Linked DNA regions of Homo sapiens: region 2 is linked to region 1. The links are contacts of gene promoters, found by promoter capture Hi-C in blood cells and fetal thymus (Javierre and others, 2016). All regions are on one chromosome and are shown on one strand. Each heading gives the region's core, a stretch centred on a gene start or on the middle of the fragment in contact. The rest is flanking DNA. Distances are from core to core; before and after follow the strand shown.

The links. Contacts are between HindIII fragments. The CHiCAGO score rates a contact against its expected background, and 5 or more counts as called.
Region 2: a fragment that was not itself captured here is called in contact with the fragment with the promoter of GLUD1 in region 1 in 2 of 17 cell types (non-activated CD4 T cells and naive CD8 T cells); the score reaches 9.1 in non-activated CD4 T cells.

What each region holds. Positions count from the first base shown.
Region 1 is chr10:87,093,401-87,098,645 of GRCh38, forward strand. GLUD1 (glutamate dehydrogenase 1) reads right to left here and starts at 1,443. Exons shown (of 13, transcript NM_005271.5): 1 at 925-1,443. The coding sequence starts at 1,369. It overlaps SHLD2 (shieldin complex subunit 2), which reads left to right and starts at 1,806. Exons shown (of 10, transcript NM_001330112.2): 1 at 1,806-1,848; 2 at 3,534-3,589. RefSeq lists silencers at 677-1,016, 1,217-1,356, 1,477-2,176, 2,097-2,354 and an enhancer at 2,397-2,456. The HindIII fragment of the contact is 4,292 bases long and covers 1-2,961 here.
Region 2 is chr10:91,158,440-91,163,835 of GRCh38, forward strand. It overlaps a transcript of PCGF5 not described here. Among named protein-coding and RNA genes, the nearest start is that of PCGF5, 60 kb to the right of the region's middle. RefSeq lists silencers at 4,039-4,128, 4,229-4,898, 5,099-5,396. The HindIII fragment of the contact is 4,422 bases long and covers 1-4,171 here.

The sequences.
Region 1 (5,245 bases), core at 193-2,692:
GGGGGGAAAAAAGCTCTTATTTGCTCGAAGAAAGCAATCTGACTACAGAGGCCAAATCTACAGACATTAAATGATTTAAACCACAGGATAACCCAGTGACTACCAAACATTATCTGACCCCTTTCTTCACGTACTATATTTTTCCTGAAGCTCAAATTCAGGGCTAGCCAGGACCAGTACACACCCCCAGAGCTATTTCATTCCATTGGCTGGCTGGCCATCCGCAGCCTACAACCTGTAAATTTACTGTCAGGACGCCAGGTGTTTATTTGTCAGAGATATTACATTGCTTGTGATTTTTTTGTGTTTTTCCTTTTTTTTGGTATAAAACAGAACTTGTCAGAATGGGAAAATTACTTAATTGAAACGATTAACGCGTGATTAGTAAATTCCTTTGGTTAATAAAACTGTCTAGATTTCAAACTTAGAAGCCAAGTCATTTTCTATGTTCGGATATCATCTGTCACTATTGGAACAGGAGTGAACAAATACCAGAAAATAATTTGACAGCTTGCATTTAGGGGAGACTCACAAAAGCCCAAGAACACTGACGAGGCATTATCACACGGGCAGGTCATTCCCTTTCCTAGAAGTGCATTTCGGCAGGACCCGCCGTGTGTGACACAGACACCGGGACCAAAAGGAGACCGGTGCAGCGTCTACTCTGCATGCAAGATCAGCATATACAGAGGCCCGGGGTGACGGCGCGGGGGAGGGGGCAGGCCAATCGCATGATGATTTTAAGGCGGAAAAATCACCATCCACAGAGCCGGCCACATCCGAGGCGGGGTGACCCGGGCGGGGACCCGGCCCGCTCCAGCTGGGCTGGGCTGGGCTGAGCAGCGGCCCCGCACCGGCAGGAGGCCGGAGGGGAGGGCCGCAGGGGAGGCAGGGAGGGCGGGACGGGGCCCGGCCGACGCTCACCTCCCTTGCAGGGCGTGCGGTGCTGGCTGTGCTGGGCCCGGTAGCCTTCGATGACCTCCCAGGAGCCGTCGTCGCGCCGGATGGGGAAGGAGAGACTCAGCACATGGTTGCAGGGCTTGATGATCCGCAGGATGCCGCGCACCCGGTTCCGCTTCTGCTCCTCGCTCTCCCGGGTCCTCAGGTCCTCCACCAGCTTGTCCTCCACGATGCTGGCGCCGCGATCGAAGAAGCCCTCCACCATCTTGAAGAAGTTGGGGTCGTCCTCGCGGTCGGCCACCGCCTCGCTGTAGTGGCGCCGGGCGGCCAATGCCAGCCCCGGCTGCGGGGCGGCGGCGGGCTGTCCCCGGGCCCAGCCCAGCAACGCGGCCGAGTCGGCGGACGCCGAGCCCAGGGCAGCGGGCCCGGCCCGGGACAGCAACAGCGCTTCGCCCAGGTAGCGGTACATGGCCACAAGCGGAGGGGAGGTGCGTGATGGTCGCGAAACAGGCGCGCTTTCTCAGACTCCCCGCGACTAGGGAGGAAGGGTCCCGCGCGGGTTGCCCTTTTAAGCCGCAGCTTCCTGCTTGCCCGGCTGTCCCCTCCCCTCGGGCGCTCGCCACCTAACGGGGAGGACGGACTTCGGGGACAGGGCGCCGCCCAGGGCGCCGGGCCTCCGCCTCCGCCGCGGCCTCCCCGGGCCTCGCTGGCGGCAGCGCGCGCCGGCGGGGCGTCGGGGGCGCGCAGGCGCGGGCGGGCTCGGCGCGCACGCTCGCGCGCCAGTGGGGAAGGGAGGGGAGGGGAGAGGAAGGGCGGGGAGGAGAGTGGAGGGGAACGGACGGGAGGGGCAGGGAGGGGAAGGTCGGGGCGGGTCGGGGCGGGTCGGGGCGGGCCCACGGGCGGCCGGATTTGCCCGGAGGCCGCACCCGCCTCCGGCGGGGCTCTCAGGTATGTGCGCCGCGGGGGTCCCTCAGGGGGGTTGGGGGTAGCCCAGGGAGGTCGGGGTCGGGGGCTGGCCTCTGTAGGGCGCTCAGAGGCCGAGTCCCCCCGAGCGCCGCGTGGGTGAGGCTTGGCGGTCTGGTCGGGGACCGGGTCATGTGAGTCACGGGCGCCCCTCCTTTCCGCCCGCGCGCCCTCGGAACGGGCGGCCCACCCTGGCCTGTCCTCTGGCGGCCTCAGGCCGGGGCCGGGCGTGCAGGGGCTGACACGTGGGCAGGAAAGCGAGGCAGAGCCGCCGCCGCGTAAGGCCGGGCTGAGGGCTCGGCGTCACCAGCCAGGGCTGCAGAGAGCGGCGTGGCACCCGGAGTTGGATTATGCGTGGCTGGCGTGAGCTGGAAGGGAGTCACTCGCCCACAAGCTCTCACCACGCGAGCTTTTATTGTCCCGTTCAACTGCTCCGCAGTGTGGAGATCGCATAGTTACGCACGTCGTGGTTGTGTCGCCCCACAGTACTGACTGCTTCACCTTTGCAGACAGAGGCTCCGGCCCGGCGCGGTGGCTCACGCCTTTAGTCCTAGCACTTTGGGAGGTCGAGGCTGGAGGATGGCTTGAGCCCAGGAGTTCGAGGCTGCAGTGAGCTACGATAGCTCCACTGCACCCCAGCCTGGGCAACAGAGGGAGACCCTATCTCCCTCTGAAATAGTCTAAAATAAGGAAACTAGAAATGCGATAATGCCCCCAGGAAATTCTTTCTCAGGAATATATGTATTTGTTAAATGGTTCAGTATATGATTTATTTTTTATTTTATTTATTTATTTGAGATGGAATCTTGCTCTGTCGCCCAGGCGGGAGTGTAGTGGCACCATCTCGGCTCACTGCAGCTTCCACCTCCCTGGGTTCGTTCTAGCGATTCTCCTGCCTCAGCCTCGGGGTAGCTGGGATTACAGGCCCGCGCCACCACGCCCGGCTAATTTTTGCATTTTTAGTAGAGACGGGGTTTCGCTGTGCTGGCCAGGCTGGTCTCCAACGCCTGACCTCAAGTGATCCGCCCGCCTAGGCCTCCCAGAATGCTGGGATTACAGACGTGAGCCACCGCGCCTGGCCTCAGTATATGATTTATAAGCTTTATGCTGTATGAGGGTTCAGTTATGTATTTATACATACTTGATAGGAAATGCTAAAGTTCACATTCCTATGGATAGCTTTTGGTGCTTTTCAAACTAACGAGGCTGGCACGGTGGCTCACGCCTGTAATCCCAGCACTTTGGGGGCCAAAGCAGGCTGATCGCTTGAGGCCAGGAGTTCAAGACCAGCCTGGGCTCGTCTCTATAAAAAGAAAATAAAAAATAAAGCTCTAATGACAGTCATTAAAACTAGCTGCCAAACACCACATTACTAGCGTTAGCGGTCTCAGTGTACTTGGGTGGTTTTAAAATGACACCCATTGGACCTGCAAAACGATGGTGCTTCCCGATATGTTCATGTTATTCATCTTTTAGAATATGGAAGAGAAAGTTCTTAGTTCTCGAAATATTGTGTAAAATATAAGGTGACAACCTGGATCTGTTAAATGACATTCATCTAAGTGTACTCTCAAAGTCAAAATTATCTTTTCATACAGGTGGAACTTATATTTTACCTTACTTGCTAAATAAGTCATTGTCATTAATTGTATTTGCACTGTGTTTTTCAGTGAAAAATGTACTCTGACCTGAATCCTGAATTTTCCTTGATGGTCAAAAGATTAAGGTATCAAATTTCCTTTTTTCTGGATGTATTATCGTTTTACTCTCTTACATTGCAATCCCCCACTCCTGCAAAAAACCCACGGAGTTTCAGAATAAAATGATTAGCATCAGTAAACATGGAAATATTTTTCTTTTTGGATTAAATTATTTGTTTATGTTCTGAGGAAAAATCTTTAAAAGCTTAGTTTTATTGTTTTTGTTGTTCTTTATAACCTTAGCCTTCAGAAAAATAAATGTTTAACTTTGCTTCTTCTGTGACTTGTTCACCTGAATTCAAGAAGGTGGAATTGGGCCTAAGGAGGTGGCTCACGCCTGTAATCCCAGCACTTTAGGAGGCTAAAGTGGGCGGATCACTTGAGGTCAGGAGTTCGAGACCAGCCTGGGCAACACAGTGAAACCTTGTCTCTACTAAAAATACAAAAATAAGCCAAGCGTGGTGGGGGGCCTACAAAAATTAGCCAGGCGTGGTGGCGGGGAGGGGGTTGGGCAGTGCTTGTAGTTCCAGCTACTTGGGAGAACCACTTGAACCAGGGAGAGAGGTTGCAGTGAGCCGAGATCGTGCCATTGCACTCCAGCCTGGGCAACAGAGCGAGTCTTCATCTCAAAAAAGGAAAGGCAGAATTGAAGAAGCTTTGGAAGAGGTGAGGAATAGAGCTGTGGAAATTACTATTTTTTTTTTAATTGAGAATCTCCTGTGTGTAGGTGCCTTACAAACTGGCTTCATGAGTACCCTATAAAACAGATGTTTTTATTTTTAAAATCATCATGGTTTTGTTTTGTTTTGTTTTTTTGAGACAGTCTTGCTCTGTTGCCCATGCTGGAGTGCAGTGGTGCAATCTCAGCTCACTGCAGCCTCTGCCTCCCAGGTTCCAGTGATTCTCCTGCCTCAGCCTCCCGAGCAGCTGGGATTACAGGCGCCCGCCACCATGCCAGGCTAATTTTTTTGTATTTTTAATAGAGACGAAGTTCCACAGTGTTGGCCAGGCTGTTCTCAAACTCCTGGCCTCAAATGATCTGCCCGCCTTGGCCACCGAAAGTGCTGGGATTACAGGTGTTGAGCCACTGCACCTGGTCATTATGTTTTAAAATTACATACAAGTTGTTAAAAAAATATGAACAGCAGAAATAGATTTTAGAAAAACAGAATGAAATTATCCATCTCTTCCCCCATTTAGTGAATATTTGGAGTATTTCTTTTCACACTGTAGGTATTATAATTCCTGATTTATTAGAAGCAGGGAGTGGCTGGGCGTGGTGGCTCATACCTGTAATCCCAGCACTTTGGGAGGCTGAGGCGGGCGGATCACCTGAGGTTGGGAGTTCGAGACCAGCCTGACCAACATGGAGAAACCCCATCTGTACTAAAAATACAAAATTAGCCTGGTGTGATGGTGAATCCCTGTAATCCCAGCTACTCAGGAGGCTGAGGCAGGAGAATTGCTTGAACCTGGGAGGCGGAGGTTTCAGTGAGCTGAGATTGCGCCATTGCACTCCAGCCTGGGTAACAAGAATGAAACTCCATCTCAAAAAAAAAAAAAAAAACAGGGAGTGAGGCCCACAGAAACCAAACAAATTGTTGATGATCACCAAGCTTGTAAATAGGGTAAGATTCAAACCTGTGTATCTGACTCCAAAGTTATACTATTTATACTATTCC
Region 2 (5,396 bases), core at 711-3,210, 4.1 Mb after region 1:
AGGGATTCCTTTGGTATTTGGTGCAGCATTACTCAAGTCAGTCAGTTCAACAACATGTGGCTGCCTATTATACTCCAGATATTGAGCTAGGTTCTAGACATTAAAAGGCAAGTAAGTTGTGGTTCATTGCCTCAAGATGCTTATGGTCAAGAGAGAGTGGACTACATAAAGGTCATGGGGCTGGAGGAGTTTTGAAAAGTGGGACCAGCGACTAGGTAAAAAGGAAGAGGGACAAAGAAATTTGTTCTCTTCCATCACAACTTTGTTGAAGAATTAGATACCCCAAACAATGCTTTTTCTTGGTCCCAGTGAATCCCCCTAAGGAACTACTAAAATTTAAGCTGGTAGAGTTGACACCCTGTAGGCTGAAGAATAACAGATAATTTGAATATCTTTAACTCAATATTTTTGGCCCTTTGAAATTTAAATTAGTAAAATTTTACTATATCAGAACTTGTAACCTAAACAGTTGACTATAAAATACAGGTTTGCTGATAATTTTTCCTGCTCCCTTTCTCCCCTGGAACTTCACAGTATGCTAAGATTGCTGAGGACTGGTGGGGGGATCCAGGGCTAGCAGAAGCAGGAAGCAGGAAGCAGGAAATGTAGAGAAATTGGAGCTAGAAAGATAACTGAGCACTTCTTTAAACAGCAGACTAGAGGAGCACCATATCTTCACAGATGGTGTTAAACAAGCATCATAAGACATAGCTTCAAATAATGCAGGGAACATACAATTAGGGCCACAAAAACTTGGGGTACCAGTTCTAGTTCTGGTATTTACTAGCTGGATAGCCACAGGAAGTCATAATTTTTTTTTGCCTATATTTAATGAGTACTGTCTATATGCCAGGCACCTATAACATGTCTATAATTGACTGAATGTTCATGGCTCCCCTCAAATTCATATGTTGAAATCCTACCCTCCAGTGTGATGGTATTGGGAGGTGGGGCCTTTGGGAAGTAATTAAGTCATGAGAGTGGAGTCCTCATTAATGGGATGACTGCCCTCATAAAAGGAACCCCAGAGAGCTCCGAGGCTCAGTGTCTTTTCACTATGTAAGGATACCATGAGAAGTCAGCACTCCAGAGGAGGAAGAAAGGCCCTCAGCCAACCCCTGACTGTGCTGGCACTCTGATGTCATACTTCCAGCCTCCAGAACTGTGAGAAATGAATGTTTGTTGTTTAAGCCACCCAGTTTATGGTAGTTTGTTATGGCAGTCTGAACTGGGCAAGAGTGTTTTACATATGACGATATTTCATTCTCATGACAACCCACTGAAGTAGATTCTATCATTTTTCTCTATTTTATAGATAAGAAAACTTACCCACAGATAATTCAAGGTCAGATAAACTAAAATTTGTTAAAGTAGGGATTTGAATACAGGTAGTCAAACTCTAATGCCCATGTTTAATCATTATGATATCCCAGGTATTAAGTCTTTTGGGCTTCAGTTCCCTCACTTAAAACTGGACACGTTGCACCAAACAATGTTGAAAATTCTTTCTGGCTTTAAACACTATGATTCTAATTATATAAATCATATCTATATTTAATACGCTCATGGTTAATCTGTGTTTCGGAATAGTCTCAGAGAACTGAGAGCTGAAGACAAGTTTCTGAAATATGGCTTCATTTCTTAGTTATCCCTTGTTTCAGTCAACGTAAACCACATAATTTACTCTTCCACCAAGAATACCCTTCCTCCATTTCCATCTGTTGAAAATCTATCCATCCTTCAAGTGCCAGCTGAAATGCACCTCCTCTAAATAGCCATTCTCAGTCTTTGGGGATTTAAAGTGCGGATGTATTAGACTGTTGGGCGTTGGGATTTGGGCGAAGTATCTGTGCTAATGAAAGGAAAAGATGTAGGATAAGAAGAAAGGTTGCAGGGAACCACGTACAGGAAAGGTAAGAGAACCGTCAGCAGTGTTGTTGGTGACGGGCACAAAGCCTTCCTTGTGACAGGCAATAGCAAAGTCACCAGATTATATTAAATGTTGCCCAGCTAGTAGGAGTGAGATGAAGATTAAATGAGAACGTTTGTAAAATATCTACTACACTGTCTGGAAGGGCAGCAACAGGATAATTCCTAATCTCTTCCTTCCATAGGCAACTGGTCATCTCCTTCATGCTGAAGAAAGCTGCCATCCTGCCCAGGGAGGAGTAGGACAAGAAGAGGGGAGAAGAGACTCTGGGGGGGAAAAGAAGTCAGGCGGAGATATATGGGAACACAAAGAAAAAACGAGAGCCAGAGTACACAAGACGAGACAGAAAAAAGAAATGTAAGGGAGTGACGGCGAAGAAGAGGATAGAACGGTAATGGAAGCAGAAGGGCAAAGAGGGACAAGTAAGAAGGAGAGAATTCTAGGCCTCGGGAAGAGAAAGTTCCTGCTGCACTGCGGAATCCGGCCTAAAGGAAGAGGCAACCAGGTGCAGCACCCAAGCCCAGGTGCCAGTCATTTGCCGCTGGGCTCTCAGACCCATTCTCCTTTTGCGGCTGTCACATATTCTGTAGGGATTCTGAGCCCTGCCCTCTGTCATCTTGTCCACTGGCTTCTCCTGCTTTCCACCACTGGGTGGGCTTGGAGGGTGGGAGGCAGGGAGAAGCCAGGGGGACTCTCATCCCCTACTTTGGAAGATGTCTGCCGCAGTAGTTGCACTAACTTTGTGGCTCCAACTCCTATTGGACAAGCCCTCCAGGGTTCCGGCTGTCTCCTCTCTTTGCCCCTCCAGCCTCAGGGGAGAAGGCACGTCCAGCAGTTGCTAATCTCAGGATTGCCTCACCTTACCCTAGTTGAACGTCCAGTTCTTTCAACACTTGTAACTAATTTGCTGCATTAAATTATTGCTATTGACTCGCTTGGGAAAGAATACTTTCGCTGGATTCACTTGCAGAGTTCAAAGACACTTTTCCTAATGGGACTGCAAGCAGCGCATCGGAGAAAAAAATCTAGCAGTCCCAGGAGTCAAGAAGGGTCAGGGTCTACTTCAGTGTGTGATCAGACAGCGACAAACCCACACTACCTAACAGGGCCGGAAGGCTCTTAGCCTAGGAATTAGCTGTAAAATGACTGGGTTCATGTCTACTTTTTCATGATTTACTCTATTCTCTTTGATCACCGCCAGCCTTGGCTTAAGGAACATCTCTGTAGAATTCAATTTTATTCCTCAAGGGTTACTTAAGTGCCCATTATGAGTATGGAGGGCACATAGCTAGGTGTGGTGGGGAGGAGATATAGAGACGCAGGAAAAATGGAGGGCATGCTCAGTTTTTGGAAGTGTTTGCTTCCTGCAAGATGAGGTTTGCGGACCTATCAGGAGAGCCTCTTGATAAAGACTCCTGAACTTTTCCAGTCTCACCAGAGCTGCAGACACTCGGAGGCAATATTAGTCTTACAGCTTTCATTTCTCCCATCACCAGAGCTCTGTTAAAAGCAGACTCCTCTTTAAGGAATCCACAGATCAGAGAGGGTACAGCACATGCACACAACTGACCCCCAGGTCAGAATGATGCCAGCCACAAGGGGGGATTCTGCTTGGGGGAGCAGGAAGACTGCACAGAGATGGTAGGAGACGGCTACAGGAGCTGAGTCCAACAAAGTTTGACAGGTGGAGGCGGCTAAGGGGTATTCTGGCAGAGAACAGAGAAGGATCAAAATAAAGTGTCAAAGGACAGACACATTTCAGGTGTTGTCTGTAAACGGAGGCTTTGGGGTGAGGGTAGGGAAGTGGAGGGGAGACTGAAAAATGGAGGCCCAGCTATTGAGGACTCTGAGAATGAGGCATTAAGGCTCGAGGCCATGGTGAGTCACTGGAGGATCTTCAGCATCAGGGCGGCAAGGTCACTTCTGGTGGGGTGGCGGGGGTGGGGTGGGGTGGGGGGACTTTGCGATTAGAAGCAAAGAAGCTGGAGGCAGGAAAAGAAACTGCGAGCTCTCGGGTGGAGGGCAGCTTATACGGGAAGCCTGGACTTGACCATCGCCAGGGAGGCATACTGACATTCGAGCTGCCTTCCATCTATTCAAGGGCACGCTTCCTCCGTCTGTGGGGGGAGAAGGTGCCCCCTCAGAGGCTGTACGATTCGAAGTCTCCGGCCTGAGAAGTTTCGAATTTCTCCTTGCCAAGGTCGGGCCACTACAGGTGGGAGACTGCGAGCCCCGAGCGAAAGCTTGGCTTCACGCCCGCCCGGGGCAGCCGCCGCGGCTCGTCCCCTCCAGGCCTGGGCACCGCCGTGGGCCGTGCCCGGCAGGACGCTCCGGGAGCTGCGCGGCGGCGGCTCGAGGAGGCCTGGCGGGCGGCGGCGAGAGGCTGTGCCCCAGTTTGTGTCCAATCAGGGAGTGCGGGCTGTGCCCCGAGCCGGGCAGCAATGCGTAAACAAACCCACGGTAACTCCTCCGCCCCCTCGGCGCGCTCGCCCCGCGCCCGCCGCCGCCAGCGCCGCCGCCGCCGCCGCGGGCTCTGCTCTCCTCGCGCCCGCCCGCCGGGCCGGCCCAGCCCCCGCCCCGCGCCGCTCGCACCCCCGCTGCCCCGCCCCGCCCCCGCCGGCGCGGGCTCCCTCACCTACCGCCCCACGCGCGCGCGCTCGCGCACCACGCGCCCCGCGCGGCCCGCCCGGATCGTGGCCTCTCGAGAGCAAGGTAAGGGCGATGCGCGGGGACCCAGGCGGCTTCCCCGCCCGACGCGGCCCAGGGAAGTTTCTGGCGTGGCTGTTTTCCGCGGGGCCGGGGGGGAGGCCCCGGGAGCCAGGCGAGCCCGGCGGGCGGGAGGGGGCCGCCTGGCGCCCCGGGGTCACAAGTTGCCTAACCTGACCTCGGTGCGGGCCGGTGGGCGGCGCGGCCGGGCTGGCGGCGCGCGGAAAGGGGCTGGAGGCACGGCGGGGCCGGGCGCCGGGCGGGCAAGGGGAGGGCCCCGAGGAACTTTCTCTTCCCCAGAGGGGCGCCTTCCAGTCCTGGCCGCGGCCCCGCCGCGGGAGCAGCGGCTCCCTGGCTGGAGGGAGACCATGAAATGTGTTCGAAGAAGCTGACGCAGTTTGTGACGCTCGCGGCTTCCTGATGGGGACCGGCAGCAGCGGCGCCTCCGCCGAGGAGGGACGACCTGAGTCGGCGCTCGGGCCCTTCCCCCGCCGGCAGCCGCGCGCCCCGGCGCCTAGTTTGGGGGCCGCTGGCTCGGGGCGCGAGCATCTGCTCCCGGCTGCGCGCGTCGCTTCCGTTTTGATTAGCTCAGGTTATTATATAAGATGTCACGGAGAGGAAAGGGGCGAGCGAGAGGCGCGTTGGGGAGGGCGCGGTGGCCTTCCGCGAGTGGCAGGGAGGGGCAGGAGGCAGGACCCGGCGGGACCCACCTGTACGCCCTCCGCGCCCCCTGCGGGCGCTGCCCGCGCGCGTGCCGGGG